3 separate regions of the Homo sapiens genome follow, and all the other regions are linked to region 1. The links are contacts of gene promoters, found by promoter capture Hi-C in blood cells and fetal thymus (Javierre and others, 2016). All regions are on one chromosome and are shown on one strand. Each heading gives the region's core, a stretch centred on a gene start or on the middle of the fragment in contact. The rest is flanking DNA. Distances are from core to core; before and after follow the strand shown.

Evidence for each region. The method cuts DNA at HindIII sites, captures the fragments that hold promoters and counts their contacts. A CHiCAGO score of 5 or more calls a contact.
Region 2: a contact is called between a fragment that was not itself captured here and the fragment with the promoter of SRSF3 in region 1, in 1 of 17 cell types (total B cells). The highest score is 6.4, in total B cells.
Region 3: a contact is called between a fragment that was not itself captured here and the fragment with the promoter of SRSF3 in region 1, in 1 of 17 cell types (naive B cells). The highest score is 8.0, in naive B cells.

What each region holds. Positions count from the first base shown.
Region 1 is chr6:36,592,770-36,596,246 of GRCh38, forward strand. It overlaps SRSF3 (serine and arginine rich splicing factor 3), which reads left to right and starts at 1,593. Exons shown (of 6, transcript NM_003017.5): 1 at 1,593-1,712. RefSeq lists enhancers at 1,101-1,260, 1,369-2,050, 1,651-1,880. The HindIII fragment of the contact is 2,162 bases long and covers 1-2,046 here.
Region 2 is chr6:37,206,583-37,210,059 of GRCh38, forward strand. No RefSeq gene overlaps it. Among named protein-coding and RNA genes, the nearest start is that of PIM1, 38 kb to the left of the region's middle. The HindIII fragment of the contact is 4,608 bases long and covers 1-3,477 here.
Region 3 is chr6:37,174,872-37,178,348 of GRCh38, forward strand. PIM1 (Pim-1 proto-oncogene, serine/threonine kinase) reads left to right here. Exons shown (of 6, transcript NM_002648.4): 6 at 1-557. Among named protein-coding and RNA genes, the nearest start is that of PIM1, 6.5 kb to the left of the region's middle. The HindIII fragment of the contact is 1,541 bases long and covers 966-2,506 here.

The sequences.
Region 1 (3,477 bases), core at 343-2,842:
GTGAGGAAACTAGGCTGAGATGTAATAAATCTGTATTTTTTTCCTCCACTACAGATAAACCTTTTAGAACCACAATAAGAGGTAAGGCTTCAAAAGAAAAATACCTGGGAAAGTTAAAACATATTAATTGGCTGGCCGGGTGCTGTGGCTCACGCCTGTAATACCAGCACTTTGGGAGGCCGAGGCGGGAGAATCGCCTGAGGTGGCGAGTTCGAGACCAGCCTGACCAGCATGGTGAAACCCCGTCTCTATTAAAAATACAAAAATTAGCCGGGTGTGGTGGCAGGTGCCTGTAATCCCAGCTACTCGGGAAGCTGAGGTAGGCGAATCGCTTGAACCCGGGAGGCGGAGTTTGCAGTGAGCCGAGGTCGCGCCATTGCACTCCAGCCTGGGCAACAGAACGAGACTCCATCTCAAGAAAAAAAAAAAAAGAAAAAAGAAAAAAAAAAACATAATAATTGGCATATCTTTCAGCTAAGAGGGAATAAATAAAAAGACAGGTTCTTTTTCTCTCTTTTTTTTTTTGTGCAGTGGTAGGATCTCAGCTCACGGCAACCTCCGCCTCCTGGGTTCAAGCGATTCTCCTGCTCTCAGCCTCCCAAGTAGCTGGGATTACAGGCGCCTGCCACCATGCCCGGCCATTTGTATTTTTAATAGAGACGGGATTTCACCATGTTGGCCAGGCTGGTCTTGAACTCCTGACCTCAAGTGATCCGCCTGCCTCGGCCTCCCAAAGTGCTGGGATTACAGGCATGAGCCACCGCGCCCGGCCCTTGGTGATTTTTCTAACCCAATCACAGTCTCTCTCCCCTTAATTACTCTTGCGGCTCTGTCTTCGTAAGGGAAGTGGCCCGGACAAAATACATGCCAGGCAGTGCAACGGCTGCTAGGAGAAAGGCTCGAGATACCCCTCCTGGCATTTGCTTGGGGGCCAGAATTTACATTCAATCTTCTTCAGAAACTTCCCTTTCCGGGTGTTTGCTAAAGGTGATAGTTTCCAGGTCACCTGACCGGTCTCCTTTGCTGTCGGCGCCAAGTCCTGCAAGTTTGCTTGAGAGACGAGAAACCAGCAAGAGTTGGGCAAACTTTCCAAACCAGGCTTTTCCTTCAGTGTGGAATCTAGGCGGCCACAGTCTGGTGCCAGCTGGGTCACAAACAGCTCCGTGACCTGTTTGTAAACGCGATGCTCTTAGTTCCAGACTAACCGCTCACAAGGGTGAAGCACTTAATTAATTCATCTCTTAATCTTGTTAGGGGCCAACGGCTCCTATTAGTGTTTGAGCGTGACGGCGACGGTGCTGTTTATGAAGCCCTAGCCTATTTGGAGGTGAGGAAGAGGAGTCTGTGGGTAACCTGGAGGTCGACAGACCGGGAGGAACGCTCGAGGGAGCACCAGGCCTGTTACAACGAGCGCGCGCCGACGCACGTCTCCACCCACCCGGCGCAACCGCCAGAGCGCGCTCCCAGCAACCGCGGCTCTCGCTGCGTTTGTAGCCATACGTCACGGCCTCTTCTGCTTCTCATTGGGGGAGCCCGTCCAATCATGTGATTCCAGTATGGCGTATAAATAAAGGCGAGGAGAAGGCGGTGGTCCGCCATTTCGTGGACGCCGGGTGAGTGAGAGAGTTGGTTGGTGTTGGGCCGGAGGAAAGCGGGAAGACTCATCGGAGCGTGTGGATTTGAGCCGCCGCATTTTTTAACCCTAGATCTCGGTAAGAGACCAGCGAAAGAGGGAATGAGGTGGAAATGGAATTTAACAGTACCAAGGAGCCAGGCCCAATGGCGGCGCCAGATTGAGACAAAGAGGCGCCGCCGCCATTTTGTGACGTTCAGCACGGGGCGGTGGCGGGGGCTCCCGGCCCATCGGAGGGTTTCCTAGTCTTGGAGTGGAAGTCTTTATATTCCTCATTGGGGCATGAGCCAGGATGGGGGTTACCTGGGAGTTGGGAACCACAAAGGGGAGCCGATAGCCGAGTTGTATTCCAGGTCACGGCCTTTTTATTTTTATGGCGCCTTTTTTTTTTTTGGCCCCTCATTTAATTGGGAAGCTTCTCAGAATGTTTTTGTAAAGTCACTAACCAAGACCGGACCTTTCAGTTCATATTAAATGGCCCCCGTAGTCACCTTACTTTCATGTAGTTTCAGATTTTGCAGCCTGAATCTAATCACCTTTTTCTAAGACCGAAAGATCTTCCTTGAACTTAAGATTCGTTCTTTCATCGCTTCCCATTAAAATGGAGGCTTAAGACAGGTGCCAGCAGTGTTTTTAAAAATTTTCACCAGTGGTTTGGTCTTAGAACTTACTCCTGGGCACAGGGTGTGGTCACGGCAAATAGGATGTGTCTGGACTGGATATTTTAATTAGACAAGCCCAGAGTAAGAAGAACGTGGTGTTTATGGAAAGCACTTCAGCTGAATTATTGAGTAGATGGTTTTTATGTAATTGAAACTGGTCTACAAGTTTATCAGATTCATCGTCGAAGTGACTCAGTAATAAAGCTTTATCAAATACAAGTCCGCCAAGGAAGAACAAAAAAATAAGTCCCCAAAGTGCAGTAAATTTTTTAGTAGCAAATATCTCTTTGTAATTTTTTATTAAAGTGAAATTATCTTTAAGTGGTATTTAGTATATTCAGTGTTGTGTAATCATCACTTACACGTAGTTCCAAAACATTTCCGTCACCTCCCCCCGCAGGAGACTACTACCCATTGAGCACTTACTCCCAGATTCCCTGTCCCCCTTCCTCTAGTCCCTAGCAACCACTAATCTTCCTGTCTCTCTGAACTTAGCTATTTTAGATATTTAGTATTTATGGAATCGTGTACTTTTATGTCTGGCTTCTTTAACTTAGCGTAATGTTTTCAAGATTTTCCAACGTTGGAGGATTTGTCAGTACATCATTCTGAATAATACTCATTTTATGTCTATACCACATTTTGCTTATCCGTTTCTGTTGATGGACATTTGGGTTAACATCTTTGGGCTACTGTGAATAAGTGCTACTATGAGTTTACATTTTTTAAAAAACTGTAAAGTTGGTCTCGTTGCTTGATAAATTTTTACCGCGTAAGACTCTGGTCTATCTAATGACATTTGATACTAGCCTTGTTCCTATAGTTCCAAATGACCAAAATAGGCATTTATTTATTTATTTATTTGTGGTTTTTTTTTGGCGATGGAATCTCGCTCTGTCGCCGAGGCTGGAGTGCAGTGGCGCGATCTCGGCTCACTGCCACCTCCGCCTCGCGGGTTCAAGCGATTGTTCTGCCTCAGCCTCCCGAGTAGCTGGGACTACAGGTGTGCGCCACCATGCCCGGCTAATTTTTGTATTTTTAGTTGTGACGGGGTTTCACCATATTGGCCAGGCTGGGTCGAACTCCTGACCTCGTGATTCGCCCGCCTCGGCTTCCCAAAAGTTCTGGGATTGCAGGTGTGAGCCGCCGCGCCCGGTCCATGGGCATTTTTTTAAAAGTGAA
Region 2 (3,477 bases), core at 470-2,969, 610 kb after region 1:
AGAGATGAAGTCTTACTGTATTGCCCAGGCTGGTCTTGAACACCTGGGCTCAAGCCATCCTCCCGCCTCAGCTTCCCAAAGTGCTAGGATTACAGGCGTGAGCCACTGCACCCAGCCTTCTTCCCCTCCTTTCTAAGGGCTAAATCATGCTATCTTCCAGGACTCGGCTTAAAGGTTTTCTCCTCCAGGAAGACTTCCCTGACTCTCCACCTCCAAGGCCCCCTCCTGCGGCCCCCAGTGCTTCCTCTAGCACCTATCGTCCTGGGTCCAGATAGCCTAAGTGGCTTGGCCCCTCGCTAGGCTGGGAGCCCCTTGGAATGTGGGCTGTGTCTTGCTTCCCCAGGTATTCCTCAATTCCTAATTCACGGTCTGCAACACAGTAATAAACTGTATGAAGAAAAGTAGGACGGAAGGCTGGGGGATCTTCACGGACTGAAAGTGTCAGGGGTGGGTGACAGCCCTTAAGAGTGTTGCTCTTCCCGGGGACACCTGCACTGTTAGAAAGACTTGTTTTCCACTTGGTGAGATGGAGCTGGGAGATGAGGTGGTGATTCTAGTGGCAGCAGTTGGTGTAAGGGAACAGGACTGGGAAAGGAGGAAAGGAATAAGGGGCTGAAATCGTATCCTTTGTCGGTATTTTCCTACCTGTGTCTAGATTCTTCACCAGAGACTGCAGAATTGAATGAGAGAAGAAAGGAGTAGGAACAGGAGGCTGAAAGAACAGTAATAATTTGCCTCTCATAGGCCGGGCGTGGCGACTCATGCCTGTAATCTCAACACTTTGGGCAGATCACCTGAGGTCAGGAGTTCAAGACCAGCCTGGCCAACTTGGTGAAACCCCATCTCTACTAAAAATACAAAAATTAGCCCAGAGTGGTGGTGGGCACCTGTAGTCCCAGCTACTCAGGTGGATGAGGTAGGAGAATCGCTTGAACTCAGGAGGCGGAGGTTGCACTAAGCCACAATGGTGCCACTGCACTTCAGCCTGGGCGACAGAGACTCTGTCTCCAAAACAAAAACAAAACTGAGAGTCTATGTCCATTCATTCCACAAATCTTTATCAAGCACCTGCTACATGCTGGGCATTGAACTAGGTGCTGGGAAAACATCAGTGAAGTAAATATGGTGCCCACATTTTTGGAGGGTGGTGGGAGAGGCAACTGTATAGAGTAAGTCAGGTGATAGTACATGTTATGAAGAAATGTAGCACAGTAAGTGGGAAAGAGACACATGGGATGGTAGGGAGGGGCTGTTTCACACCCATTGGTAGGGAAGGCCTCTCTGATGCCTTCTGAGCAAGAAAGGAAGCTGGTGAATAGCTGGAGTAAGAATATTCTAGGCGGAAGGCACAGTGAGTGCAAAGGCCCCGAGGCTGGAGTGTGCTGTCTGTGTTAGGGTGAACGAAAGGAAGACAGCATGGCTGCAGCAGAGGGAGGCGGAGAGAACAAAATGGTTAGAAAGCAGATCAGAGGGTGACAAGGGACTGGGTTATTTAGCAGCTGGCATGCCGTGGTAAAGACTTGGGATTTCTACCCTGAGTGTGGTGGGGAGCCCTGGCAGGTGAGGACCGGAGTAGAGGAGGGACTTGATCTGACTCAGGTTTCAACAGGAGCCCTCTGGTGGCTGGGCGGAGAACTGACTGTAAAGGGAACACAGTGGCATGGGGAGGCCAGTCAGGAACTGCTACTGCAATAGCCTGGGCAAGAGATGGTGATGGCCTGGGCCAGGGAGGTGGCAGGGGAGGTTATATGAAGTGGTTGGATATGGATCTATATTGAAGGGTGGGCTGATGGGGAGTGGTGAGGAGTTAGATTCAGGCTGAGAGAAAGAGAGGACCTAAGGATGCCTGCTGGGTCTTTAACTTGAGCAATGGAAGGGTAGAGGTGGCAAAGACTGGGGGTTAGGGCAAGGTATACGGGAGAAAATCAGGAGTGTGGATTGGGATACACTCCCCAATTTTTATTTATTTATTTATTTATTTATTTATTTATTTGAGATGGAGTTTTGCTCTTGTTGCCCAGGCTGCAGTATAGTGGCGCGATCTCAGCTCACTGCAACCTCCACCTCCCAGGTTCAAGCAATTCTCCTGCCTCAGCCTCCTGAGTAACTGGGATTACAGGCACCTGCTACCATGCCCGGTTAATTTTTGTATTTTTAGTAGAGAGGAGGTTTCACCATGTTGGCCAGACTGGTCTTGAACTCCTGACCTCAGGTGATCCACCCGCCTCAGCCTCCCAAAGTGCTGTCATTACAGGCGTGAGCTACCATGCCCGGCTACATTCCCACATTTTAAGAAAATTAAAAAAAAAAATTTTTTTACATCAGTTGGATGCGGTGGCACACCTGTATTCCCAGCTACTCAGGAGGCTGAGGTGGGAGGATCGCTTGAGCCTGGAAGTTCAAGGCTCCAGTGAGCTATGATTGCACGACTGCATTCCAGCCTGGGTGACAGAGTGCAACCCTGTCTCTAAAAATCAAATAAAAGTAGAGACATCCTGAGTGAGACCCTGAGAGAATCTGAGTCAGAGAACCAGGTGAGCTGTGTCTGGACTCCTGACCGCAGAAACTAAGACAGAATAAATGTACTGTCTTAAGCTGCTAATTTTGGGGTAATTTGTTATGCAGTAATAGATAACTAGTACATGTCACATCTCTACAAAAATGTCTCTACAACAGTAACCACCCCAAAACATATCCTGACTGGGTATGGTGGCTCATGCCTATAATCTCAGCACTCTGGGAAGCCAAGGTGGGAGGATAGCCTGAGGCCAGGAGTTCAAGACCAGCCTGGGCAACATAGGGAGACCCCATATTGTATTTAAAAAAAAAAAAAAGAGTTGTGTAGGGGAGGATCTGCTTCCAAGCTCCCTCATGGGGCTGTTGGTAGGATTCCGTTCCTCACGGGCTCTTGGTTAGTGACCTCTGCTCCTGGCAGTGTGAGCCTTTCCATAAAGATACTTTCAACATGATAGCCAGCTTCCCTCAGAGAGCGGGCAGCACTGACGTCATCGTCTTCTGTAACCTAACCTTAGAAAGGACAACCCATCGCTTTTGCTATGTTCTCTTTGCTAGAAGAGGATCACTGGGTCCTGCCCACATCTAAGAAGAGGTGATGAATGTGAATATCAGTTCGCAGAGATCTCTGGGAACCATGTTAGAGCTGGCTACCACATCAAGGAAGCAACTGCATAAACAAAGCCAGGGTTTAGGGGAGAAGTCCAGGCTGAAGATGTATATGGGGCTTATTAGTGATGGGTCTGGACCAGGTGAGCTGGGAGTGAGTGAGACAGAGAACAAGACCAAGGACTGTGCCAAGGGCACTCCGGTGTTTGGAGGTCAGGAAGATGAGGAGAGGCCAGCAAAGGAGACTGAGGAGAAGGGGCCAGTGCGGCAGGGGAGGGATGGAGACGGAGGCAGAGGGGCTACCAGAGAAACCTGTTGGCAGGAGAGAGGGATCAGCAGTCAAAAGCCACTGCA
Region 3 (3,477 bases), core at 486-2,985, 580 kb after region 1:
TAGTATACAAAAAGATTGTAGTGGATCTAATTTTTAAGAAATTTTGCCTTTAAGTTATTTTACCTGTTTTTGTTTCTTGTTTTGAAAGATGCGCATTCTAACCTGGAGGTCAATGTTATGTATTTATTTATTTATTTATTTGGTTCCCTTCCTATTCCAAGCTTCCATAGCTGCTGCCCTAGTTTTCTTTCCTCCTTTCCTCCTCTGACTTGGGGACCTTTTGGGGGAGGGCTGCGACGCTTGCTCTGTTTGTGGGGTGACGGGACTCAGGCGGGACAGTGCTGCAGCTCCCTGGCTTCTGTGGGGCCCCTCACCTACTTACCCAGGTGGGTCCCGGCTCTGTGGGTGATGGGGAGGGGCATTGCTGACTGTGTATATAGGATAATTATGAAAAGCAGTTCTGGATGGTGTGCCTTCCAGATCCTCTCTGGGGCTGTGTTTTGAGCAGCAGGTAGCCTGCTGGTTTTATCTGAGTGAAATACTGTACAGGGGAATAAAAGAGATCTTATTTTTTTTTTTATACTTGGCGTTTTTTGAATAAAAACCTTTTGTCTTAACTCGTGGCTTCTAATCGTCTGTGCGGAGGCATTGCTAACCTGCATTTATTGAGCATTTGGTAAGTGCCAAAGAATTGTAGGAGAAAGGAATTCTCAGCCTAAATCTGGCTTCCTTCAACATTGGGATTTCTAGGATAGTCATCTTCCTGAAACGAATGTATGGTCAAGGGGTAGGACCAGTATTGTCAAAATTTGGGCAATATCTGGCATGGGAGGCCTAATAAAATAACCTTTTCCAGATTACAATTTTAAAGCTATGCAAATAGGATAGATGTGACAATTTTCAAGTGTTCAATAGCCATTTATGGCTAGTGGCCACCTCATATAAAACATCATTGCAGAAAGTTCTATTGGATGGGGCTGATCTAGAGATAACAAATACATACCTATTACCAAACTAACCCTTGAAGCTTTTATCAGTTGTCTGCCACTGATAGTAAAACATTTTGAGCATGTCCCCTTGGTACACGTGAAGTTTATTGAAAAACTATTGCCTCTATTACTCTCGGTTCCTGATTCAAGTTTCCTTCACCTTTAGTGTGAGGTTTAGTTTCTTTTCGAGACTGAGTCTCTGTCAACCAGGCTGGACCAGCTGGCGTGCCACTGCCAGTGGCACGATCTCGGCTCACTGCAACTTTCACTTCCCGGGTTCAAGCAGTTCTACCTCAGCCTCCTGAGTAGCTGGGATTACAGGCGCCCGCTGCCACGCCCAGCTAATTTTTGTATTTTAGTAGAGACAGGGTTTTACCATGTTGGCCAGGCTGGTCTCGAGCTCCTTGACCTTATGATCCGCCTGCTTCAGCCACCCAAAGTGCTAGGATTACAGGTGTGAGCCATCGTGCTCCGCAGCCTTTTTTTTTTTTTTTTTGAGATGGAGTGTCGCTCTGTTGCCCAGGCTGGGGTGCAGTGGTGCAATCTAGGCTCATCGCAAGCTCCGCCTCCCGGGTTTTAAGTGATTATCCTGTCTCAGCCTCCCGAGAAGTTGGGATTACAGGCATGTGCCACCAGGCCAGCTAATTTTGTATTAGTAGATACGGGGTTTCGCCATGTTGGCCAGGCTGGTTTGGAACTCCTGACTTCAAGTGATCTGCCTGCCTTGGCCTCCCAAAGTGCTGGGATTACAGGCGTGGGCCACCGCGCCTGGCCTAGTCTTTAACAATAGTATAATTTATTATGCAGCATAGAAAAAATAATAGAACAGTGTGGTGACACTAAAGTCGTGACCAGATAAGACCCAGTCTACAAAAAATAAGTGAAAATTAGCTGAGCGTGGTGGCATACACCTGTAGTCCTACCTATGCAGGAGGCTGAGGCAGGAGGATCGCTTGAACCCAGGAGCTCCAAGGTTGCAGTGAGTTATGATCACGCTATTGCACTCCAGCCTGGGCAACAGGTAACCCCACTTAAAACACACACACACACACACACACACACACACACAATAGTGGATGGGTAGAAATGTGAGTTTGACTTAAGGTTTCCCCCTCTGATGTGTTTGACAAAGGGCTAATATTGGGAGTAGGTGAAATGTTAGCTCTGCCATTTTCTTACTGCTTATTCTTGAATAATTAGTATTTTTAGTCCATGGTTTCTTTGCAGGGATCTGTTTAATAGGCCCTTTGTCCATTTTGTGTGAGTTTAGTTAAACTGGATGGCAAGACCCATGAATCCACTTTGTACGTGTGGCCTGAATACATCCTGATATTTTGAAAGCACACTGGAGTGCCATTGTCAATTCATATATTAAGTATTGGTAAATGTTGGTTTCTTGTTTCTTTATAAATATCCACAGTTATAATACTCCCTCCCTGGGGGTCATCATGCTCCCAACCCTCAATGCATCCACACACCCTTTGGACACTGGCCCATATGCACCCTCGAGGTTGCTGGAGGGTGCAGACTATAATACCCCTCACTCCTCATTGGGTTCTGGTGTATGTCTACCCTTAAGCTTAGACTAGATCCCATACCTCAGCTCAGCCCCCATGTGGCTATAAAGAGGAAGGAAGGATGTCTTGGTTCTGGGGGGCTGATTTTCTGAGGTTCCCCTTTTCTCTAATCTCTCCCATCCCCCACACAACATACACACACTACCAACATCTTGGAGCCTGAGGGTTGCATGCTTCGTCCTTTCCAGTAAAGCTGACACTTGGATAATTAAAAGTTGCCGCAAACTATTAACGAAATCAGGCAAAGCCCCACCCTTCTCTTTCTCGAAGTGAGTTTCTGGCAGTTTCCCCATCTAATGAGACTGCTGCGGGGGAATAGAAGAAAGTATCTCTGAATAAAGACAGATCGTGCTCCTGTTGGATGCAAGAGATTAAGAGTTTTAGGGGGAGGGTGAAAGGTCATATTTAATCTCTTCTCAGGGGCAGTTTGACATCTAGCGTGGAAAGGGAATCAGATAACCAATAAGTCTGCGGGGGATCAATGTCATGGCCAGAGGAATATAGAGAGCAATGGTTAAAAGCATTGACTTGGGAATCAGCCTTGAGCTTACTTATCTAGAAACCTTGGGCAAGTTATTACACCCTCTAAAACTAATCTCTAAACAGAGATACTCCTGGATTGGATTATTAGGAGACTGGGTTAAATAACAGATATACTTACATACAGAAAAACTACTATCTCCCGCTTACGGATGCATACACATGTAGCAAAAGTACAAAGAAGTACAGGGTGGGGTAGGGTGTGGTAGTTCACACCCATAATCCCAGCACTTTGGGAAGACAAGGAGGGATGATCACTTGAGCCCAGGAGTTTGAGACTAGCCTGGCCAACATGACAAAACCCCATCTCTACAAAAAAATAGAAGCATTAGCCGGACGTGGTGGTGCGTGCCGGTAGTCCCAGCTACTTGGGAGGCTGAGGTGGGAGGATCAATTGAGTCCGGGAGATGGAGGCTGCAGTGAACCAAGAT